Linked DNA regions of Homo sapiens: region 1 is linked to region 2. Evidence: promoter capture Hi-C in human tissues and cell types (Jung and others, 2019). All regions are on one chromosome and are shown on one strand. Each heading gives the region's core, a stretch centred on a gene start or on the middle of the fragment in contact. The rest is flanking DNA. Distances are from core to core; before and after follow the strand shown. Region 1 has its middle 44 kb from the start of SLC22A2. Region 2 holds the start of SLC22A3 (solute carrier family 22 member 3).

The links. The method cuts DNA at HindIII sites, captures the fragments that hold promoters and counts their contacts. A contact is called where the count stands out against the background at its distance.
Region 1: a fragment that was not itself captured here is called in contact with the fragment with the promoter of SLC22A3 in region 2 in 1 of the 25 tissues and cell types used here (H1 embryonic stem cells).

The regions. Positions count from the first base shown.
Region 1 is chr6:160,212,468-160,216,344 of GRCh38, forward strand. No RefSeq gene overlaps it. Among named protein-coding and RNA genes, the nearest start is that of SLC22A2, 44 kb to the right of the region's middle. The HindIII fragment of the contact is 4,279 bases long and covers 1-3,850 here.
Region 2 is chr6:160,346,078-160,349,702 of GRCh38, forward strand. SLC22A3 (solute carrier family 22 member 3) reads left to right here and starts at 2,301. Exons shown (of 11, transcript NM_021977.4): 1 at 2,301-2,771. The coding sequence starts at 2,343. The HindIII fragment of the contact is 13,379 bases long and covers 1-3,625 here.

The sequences.
Region 1 (3,877 bases), core at 461-2,960, 130 kb before region 2:
ATTATGTAATGGCCTTCTTTGTCTCTTTTGATCTTTGTTGGTTTAAAGCCTGTTTTATCAGAGACTAGGATTGCAACTCGTTTTTTTTTTGTTTTGTTTTCCATTTGCTTGGTAGATCTTCCTCCATCCCTTTATTTCAAGCCTACGTGCGTCTTTGCACATGAGATGGGTCTCCTGAATACAGCACACTGATGGGTCTTGACTCTTTATCCAATTTGCCAGTCTGTGTCTTTTAATTGGCACATTTAGCCCATTTACATTTAAGGTTAATATTGTTATGTGTGAATTTGATCCTGTCATTATGATGTTTGCTGATTATTTTGCCTGTTAATTGATGCAGTTTCTTCCTAGGATTGATGGTCTTTACAATTTGGCATGTTTTTGCAGTGGCTGGTGCTGGTTTTTTCTTTCTATGTTTAGTGCTTCCTTCAGGAGCTCTTGTAAGGCAGGCCTGGTGGTGACAAAATCTCTCAGCATTTGCTTGTCTGTAAAGGATTTTATTTCTCTTTCACTTATGAAGCTTAGTTTGTCTGCACATGAAATTCTGCGTTGAAAATTCTTTTCTTTAAGAATGTTTAATATTGGCCCCCACTCTCTTCTGGCTTGTAGAGTTTGGGCTGAGAGATTCACTGTTAGTCTGATGGGCTTCCCTTTGTGGGTAACCTGACCTTTCTCACTGGCTGCCCTTAACATTTTTTCCTTCATTTCAACCTTGGTGAATCTGACAATTATCTGTCTTGGGGTTGCTCTTCTCGAGGAGTATCTTTGTGGTGTTCTCTGTATTTCCTGAATTTGAATGTTGGCCTGTCTTGCTAGGTTTGGGAAGTTCTCCTGGATAATATCCTGAAAAGTGTTTTCCAACTTGGTTTTATTCTCCCTGTCACTTTCAGGTACACCAATCCATCATAGATTTGGTCTTTTCACATAGTCCCATATTTGTTGGTGGCTTTGTTCATTTCTTTTTACTGTTTTTTCTCTAAACTTCTCTTCTTGCTTTATTTCATTCATTTGATCTTCAATCACTGACCCTTTCTTCCACTTGATCAAATCAGCTACTGAAGCTTTTGCATGCGTCATGTAGTTCTCATGCTATGGTTTTCATCTCCATTAGGTCATTTAAGGTCTTCTCTACACTGTTTATTCTAGTTAGTCATTCGTCTTTTTTCAAGATTTTTAGCTTCCTTGCGTTGGGTTCAAACACCTTCCTTTAGCTCAGAGAAGTTTGTTATTACCGACCTTCTGAAGCCTACTTCTGTCAACTCGTTAAAGTCATTCTCCGTCCTCCTTTGTTCCGCTGCTGGTGAGGAGCTGCGATCCTTTGGAGGAGAAGAGTTGCTCTGGCTTTTAAAATTTTTGGCTTTTCTGCTCTGGTTTCTCCCCATCTTTGTGGTTTTATCTACCTTTGGTCTTTGATGTTGGTGACCTACAGATGGGGTTTCGGTGTGGATGTCCTTTTTGTTGATGTTGATGCTATTGCTTTATGTTTGTTAGTTTTTCTTCTAACAGTCATGTCCCTCAGCTGCAGGTCTGTTGGAGTTTGCTGGAGGTCCACTCCAGACCCTGTTTGCCTGGGTATCACCAGTAGAGGCTGTAGAACAGCAAATATTGAAGAACAGCAAATATTGCTGCCTGATCCTTCCTCTGGAAGCTTTGTCCCAGAGGGGCACCCGCCTATATGAGGTGTCAGTCAGCTTCTACGGGGAGGTGTCTCCCAGTTAGGCTACATGGGGGTCATGGACCCACTTGAGAAGGCAGTCTGTCCATTCTCAGAGCTCAAAAACTGTGCTGGGAGAACCACTGCTCTATTCAGAGCTGTCAGACAGGGACATCTAAGTCTGCAGAAGTTTTTGCTGCCTTTTATTCAGCTATGCCCTGCCCCCAGAGGTGGAGTCTATAGAGGCAGCAAGCCTCGCAGCACTGCAGTAGGCTCTGCCCCATTTGAGCTTTCTGGCAGCTTTGTTTACCTACTCAAGCTTCAGCAATGGCAGATGCTCCTGCCACTGCCAGGCTGCTGCCTTGTAGGTTGATCTCAGACTGTTGCACTAGCAGTGAGCAAGGCTCTGAGGGCATGGGACCCACCGAGCCAGGCATGGGATATAATCTCCTGTTGTGCTGTTTGCTAAGACTGTTGGAAAAGTGCAGTATTTAAGCGGGAGTGTCCCGTTTTTCCAGGTACAGTCTGTCATGGCTTCCCTTGGCTAGGAAAGGGAAATCCCCTGACCTCTTGCGCTTCCCAGGTGAGGTGACACCCCACCCTGCTTCAGCCCTCCATGGGCTGCACCCACTGTCCCACCAGTCCCAATGAGGTGAACCAGGTACCTCAGTTGGAAATGCAGAAATCACCCATCTTCTGCATTGATCACGCTGGGAGCTGCAGACTAGAGCCGTTTCTATTTGATCGTCTTAGAACAGACCTCCACAATCTTTATCTTAACCTGAACATTCCCTTTCTATCAATTCCAGATCTTTAGACAAACCCAACCAATTGTCAACCAGAAAATGTTTAACTTCACCTATAGCCTGGAAGCCCCCGCCATGCCCTCCTCACTTTGAGTTGTCCTGCCTTTCTGGACCAAACCAATGTATTTCTTAAATGCATTTGATTGATGCCTCATGCCTCTCTAAAATGTATAAAACCAAGCTGTGCCCCGACCACCTTGGGCACATGTTCTCAGGACCTCCTGAGAGCTGTGTCACGAGCCATGGTCACTCATATTTGGCTCAGAATAAATCTCTTTAAATATTTTATAGAGTTCAACACTTTTCTTTGACACTGGTACCAATTTATTGTATTATTCTGTTCTCATGATACTAATAAAGACATACCACACTGGGTAATTTACAAAGGAAAAAGTTTTGGCTTACAGTTCCACATGGCTGGGGAGGCCTCACAATTGTGGTGGAAAGCAAAGGAGGAGCAAAAGCACGTATTACATGACAGAAAGCAAGAGGAGTCCTGGCATGTAAAGGGGAATTCCCTATTATGAAACCATCAGATATCATGAGACTTATTCACTACCACAAGAACAGCACAGGAAAAACCTGCCCCCATGATTCAATTACGTTGCATTTGGTACCTCCCATGACACGTGGGGATTATTACAATTCAAGGTGAGATTTGAGTGGGGACACAGAGCCTAACTATATCATGGGGGTTCAAGATCTTCAGATTCATTTGGGTTCAGTCAGTGTCTCCATTCCAGTTCTGAGATTCCCTCCTTCCTACCCATTTTGTAACTTTTGTTTAAGAGACCTGATGAGGGTATGAATTCAGCCTATGGTGCAATTCTACAGCCTATAATATCAATGTTTCTCTTCTCTCTTGCTCCTTCCTTCCCATCTCTGGCCAGTGTGACCCACTGTATAGGAAGCCAGGTGGTGACGGGTCTGAGAAATGTCATTTTCAGGTTTCAACAGTTGATGCCACAGAAGAGAGTGCAGGAGGACAGGCATACCTGCTTTCTCAGGAAGCTATTGGAAATTATGCTTCTTTAAAATGTGACAAAAATCAAGAAGGAGATGGCATCTAGGAGACAGGAGACAAAAGGAACACTCAGGAAGGTGGGGAAAGAGAGCCCAGGGCAACAGCTCTGCTGCAGACCTAGAGATCCACCAGGCGAAAGTGGAGCAGGAGGGCTGGGGGCTCCATGTGGGAGGTCTCTCAGAACAAAAGAAAAGAAGAGAAACCAATGCGTGACGTATTTGAATACATTGAGGGGAGAGCTATTATTCTGTCAGATAGTTTGGAGGAAAATTAATGATGAATATGTAGAAAACAAAACAATAAAAACCAGTGTTCAGGAAAAGCAAGATACTGTAAAAGAAAGGAAGCATAATCATAGTACACAAAATGACTCAGTGTTAATAGCCATAATGA
Region 2 (3,625 bases), core at 1,051-3,550:
ACTGTGGGAAGATGATCCCAAGTGCAGGCTGGACCAGAGGACAGGTGCTGCAGGGACAGAACCCTGAGGGGAGCCCAAGGCAATCACATAGCTGAGATGAGGGGACATGTGAGTGTGTATGAGTGTGTGTGAGTGTGTGTGGTGGGGGAGTCAAGAAGCATCTGTTTATTTCACAAATATTTACTGAGCACCTACAATGCACCAAGCACTGTTCCAGAAGGTATCGATAGAAGAAAATACAAAACTGTCTGCCCTCATGAAACTTGAGTTGTAATGGAGAGACACAGATAAGATAAATAAATAAAATGAATAAGTATAAATATAAATATATGATAAATGAATAAAAACATATCTATGACAATATATGGTGATGATAAGTGCTTTGGAGACAAAGCAGGAAAGGGGGGAATGTGCTAGTGTATGCAGAGGTTGGGGTGGGTTGTTGACTGGTCCCAGTTCCCTGAAAATTCACTGACAAGAGGCAGATGGCTAGAAGAAAAGGTGTACTTATTTATTTAAGGTGTACATGGGGGCCTTCAGAAGGAAGGCCCAAAGATACAGGGGAAATTGCCTAGTTTTATGCTTAGGTTCAACAAAACATGGAGAGCCCTGTCGAAATAGGATTGGACCAAAAGGGTGTGATCTGATGCTGATACTGAGTGAGGAAACCCAGCGAGGCCGGTGGCTCTAGATTCTTCTTGGCCTCTCTGAGCAGCCTTTTTTTCCTTCTGGGTAAGGGGCAGGTTCTTCTGTGGAATGGGAGGTCTTAGGACTGCAATCAACAAGGTAGAACAGTTGATTTCTTTATGGCCAGTTTTTACACAGACAAGTGAGGGAAAATCACAGTGATATTTTTGTTTTATGACTGGCTTTGGGGAAAAGCGTTCTGGTTTCGATGGCTAGCCTGGGGGAGAATGGGACCGAGAGACAGGAGGGCAGAAGATGACACAGAGACTGCTTCTGAGGCCTTCATTTTGGCGTATTGTTTTCTGAGCTCCAACATTGGCAAAAGGGGTTCCAAGCCGAGATGACCTAAGAGTACAGGCCTGAGGAGTGAGTGGTGTCCCCGCCATACTGAGGTTCTGAGTCTGGGCCCAGGACATGGTTGCACCGAAAGGCAGGGCAGGAAAGGGGAGCTGGGTTGGAGGGGGACAGACTGAGTCTGGGGTCCAGCGGGCAGTTGAAACTGCTGGTGAGGACATGAGGCCAGTTTGAATCCAAGCAGCCTGGCTTCAAACTCCTTGTTCCGGAGGAGGAACCGCAAGTCCTCCCAAGGCCTTGGAGAAAAGTGAGCTAAAGGCAGAACGTGGGCCGATAACGTGGGGGCGTGGGGGGACCGCGACCCAGCCCGGGGAAGGCGTCCCAGCATGGACCCAGCAGCCTGGGCAGCCTGGGCGGGAAGTTCTGATCGCGCTCTGCCGAATTGGCAGGCGCAATAAGTAAGCGGAAAAACCAGGATTCAAACCAACCACCAACACCCTTCCCTGGCGTTCAGACCGAAGGTGGGTGGGAAGGCCCTGGCGAAGGAGGTCTGCATCAGGCCTGGCCTTGAGGCGATCCCTTCTCACCCCAAACCTCCTGGACGCTGAGCAAGCCCCTTCGCCTGTGTGGGTTGCCCGGCTGCCCTCTGGGGAAAGTTGGGTGATCAAATCCCAAGTTGTAGCTCTCGATGGGTCGAGGGCGATGGCCAGCGCTGTGCTGGGAACGGGCAGCCCTGCCCTGCCCTGCCCTGCCCTGCCCTGCCCTGCCCTGCCCTGCCCCACATGGGCGCAGGAGGCCTCCGCACGCGCAAGGGCCAAGGGCTGGAGGGGGCTCTCCCGGGCACAGGCACCGGACCCGGGGCGCGCGCGCGCGTCCTTAGTCCCCGGGCTGCACTCCGGGCCGCTGAGAGATCGGGTCCCAGAAGTTCCGGGAGTGGTCGGGTGACCCTGGAACTTTCTTCTTCTGGAGCCCGACCTGGGGCTGACTGCAGAGCAGGCTGCTGGCAGGGACCAAAAGGAGCTCCGCGCCAGGCCGGAGGCTGCGCCCGTCACTCGCGGTCCCGGCCGGGTCCCTGGCGCGTAGTCAGGCCGCACCGCCCGAGCCCCACCGCGCGCCCACCCCGGCCGGGTGCGTCCGGCTCGCGGCCGTCCCTCCCGCGACCTGTGGCCCGGGGCTGCTGCGGGCGCCCGGGGAAGAGAGGCGGGGGCCGCGGGGGGCAGGAGGAGCGGCTGCGGCCGGCACAGCGCCAGGGCGAGTGAGGCGGGTGGCGCGGGGGAGGCGGCGGAGTAAAGAGAGGCCGCCGGCTGGGTCCGCGGGTCACTCCGAGGCGCGGGCTGCGGGCGGCGGGCGGCGGGCGCACCATGCCCTCCTTCGACGAGGCGCTGCAGCGGGTGGGCGAGTTCGGGCGCTTCCAGAGGCGCGTGTTTTTGCTGCTGTGCCTGACGGGCGTCACCTTCGCCTTCCTCTTCGTCGGCGTGGTCTTCCTGGGCACGCAGCCCGACCACTACTGGTGCCGCGGGCCAAGTGCCGCGGCGCTGGCCGAGCGCTGCGGCTGGAGCCCGGAGGAGGAGTGGAACCGCACGGCGCCCGCCTCCCGCGGCCCAGAGCCCCCCGAGCGCCGCGGCCGCTGCCAGCGCTACCTCCTGGAGGCGGCCAACGACAGCGCCTCCGCCACTAGCGCTCTCAGCTGCGCGGACCCACTCGCCGCCTTCCCCAACCGCTCGGCTCCCCTTGTGCCGTGCCGCGGCGGCTGGCGCTACGCCCAGGCCCACTCCACCATCGTCAGCGAGGTAAGGGCGCCCCGGCCCTTTGGAAGCCGGCGGGAGAGGACGATGCTGGCTCCCAGGCGGACAAGCCGCGTGTGAGACGCTGGCCGCCAGGGGAGGTCGGTGGAGACGGGGACCGGTCGGCTACCTCTGGGGACAGACAGGATTCAGCGCACCCTTGGAAGTGCCGCGTCGTAAATGCTGGGAAAAGCCTTTCGTTATCTGCCTGAGCCCGTGAGTTAATGCACAGATACTTTGGTTTCGGGTGTGAACAAAAACTTTCTTCGAAGCCGAGTTGTAAACGCCTGGCGCACGCCTGCTCAGGAGTCAAAGACCCAGCACCGCGTTCCTTATCTTTGAGGTGTGCGGGCGCCGTCATTGGAAATTATGGTTAGGTGCGCGATAGGGAACTTCAGTCTCTGGGGTGAGCGACGTTGGCAGTTCCGGATTCGCTTATGGTCTCCAGGGTCAAAGGAAAGGGCGAACCAACGTTTGAAGGCAGCAGCAGCTTTTTTCCAGTTGCCCAAATGGTTACTCAAAATGCAAGGGGACAAAGGTCGAGGCTTTCCCGGGGAATGGTTTTGGTAAAATTGCTTTGGGGCAAAGAGCAACATCTGGGATAAGTTGGGAAAACTGAAGTATTGGATAAATTTTAGTTTTTTTTTCTGGTAATAAATTTTAGGAACATAGCGGGAGGGCCACAGCCTTCCAACGCAAATCCCCAACCCATTTACAGGCGGAGGCTGCTGCCGGCGGGTGGGCGGGGGCGATCCCCACATTTTGGGCAGTCAGTGCATTTGGAAGTTAGGGGAGCTTCCTTCACCCTTGCCCTCAGTAATCTGTTTCTGCATCCTTGCTGAAATGGAAGATTGCCTCTC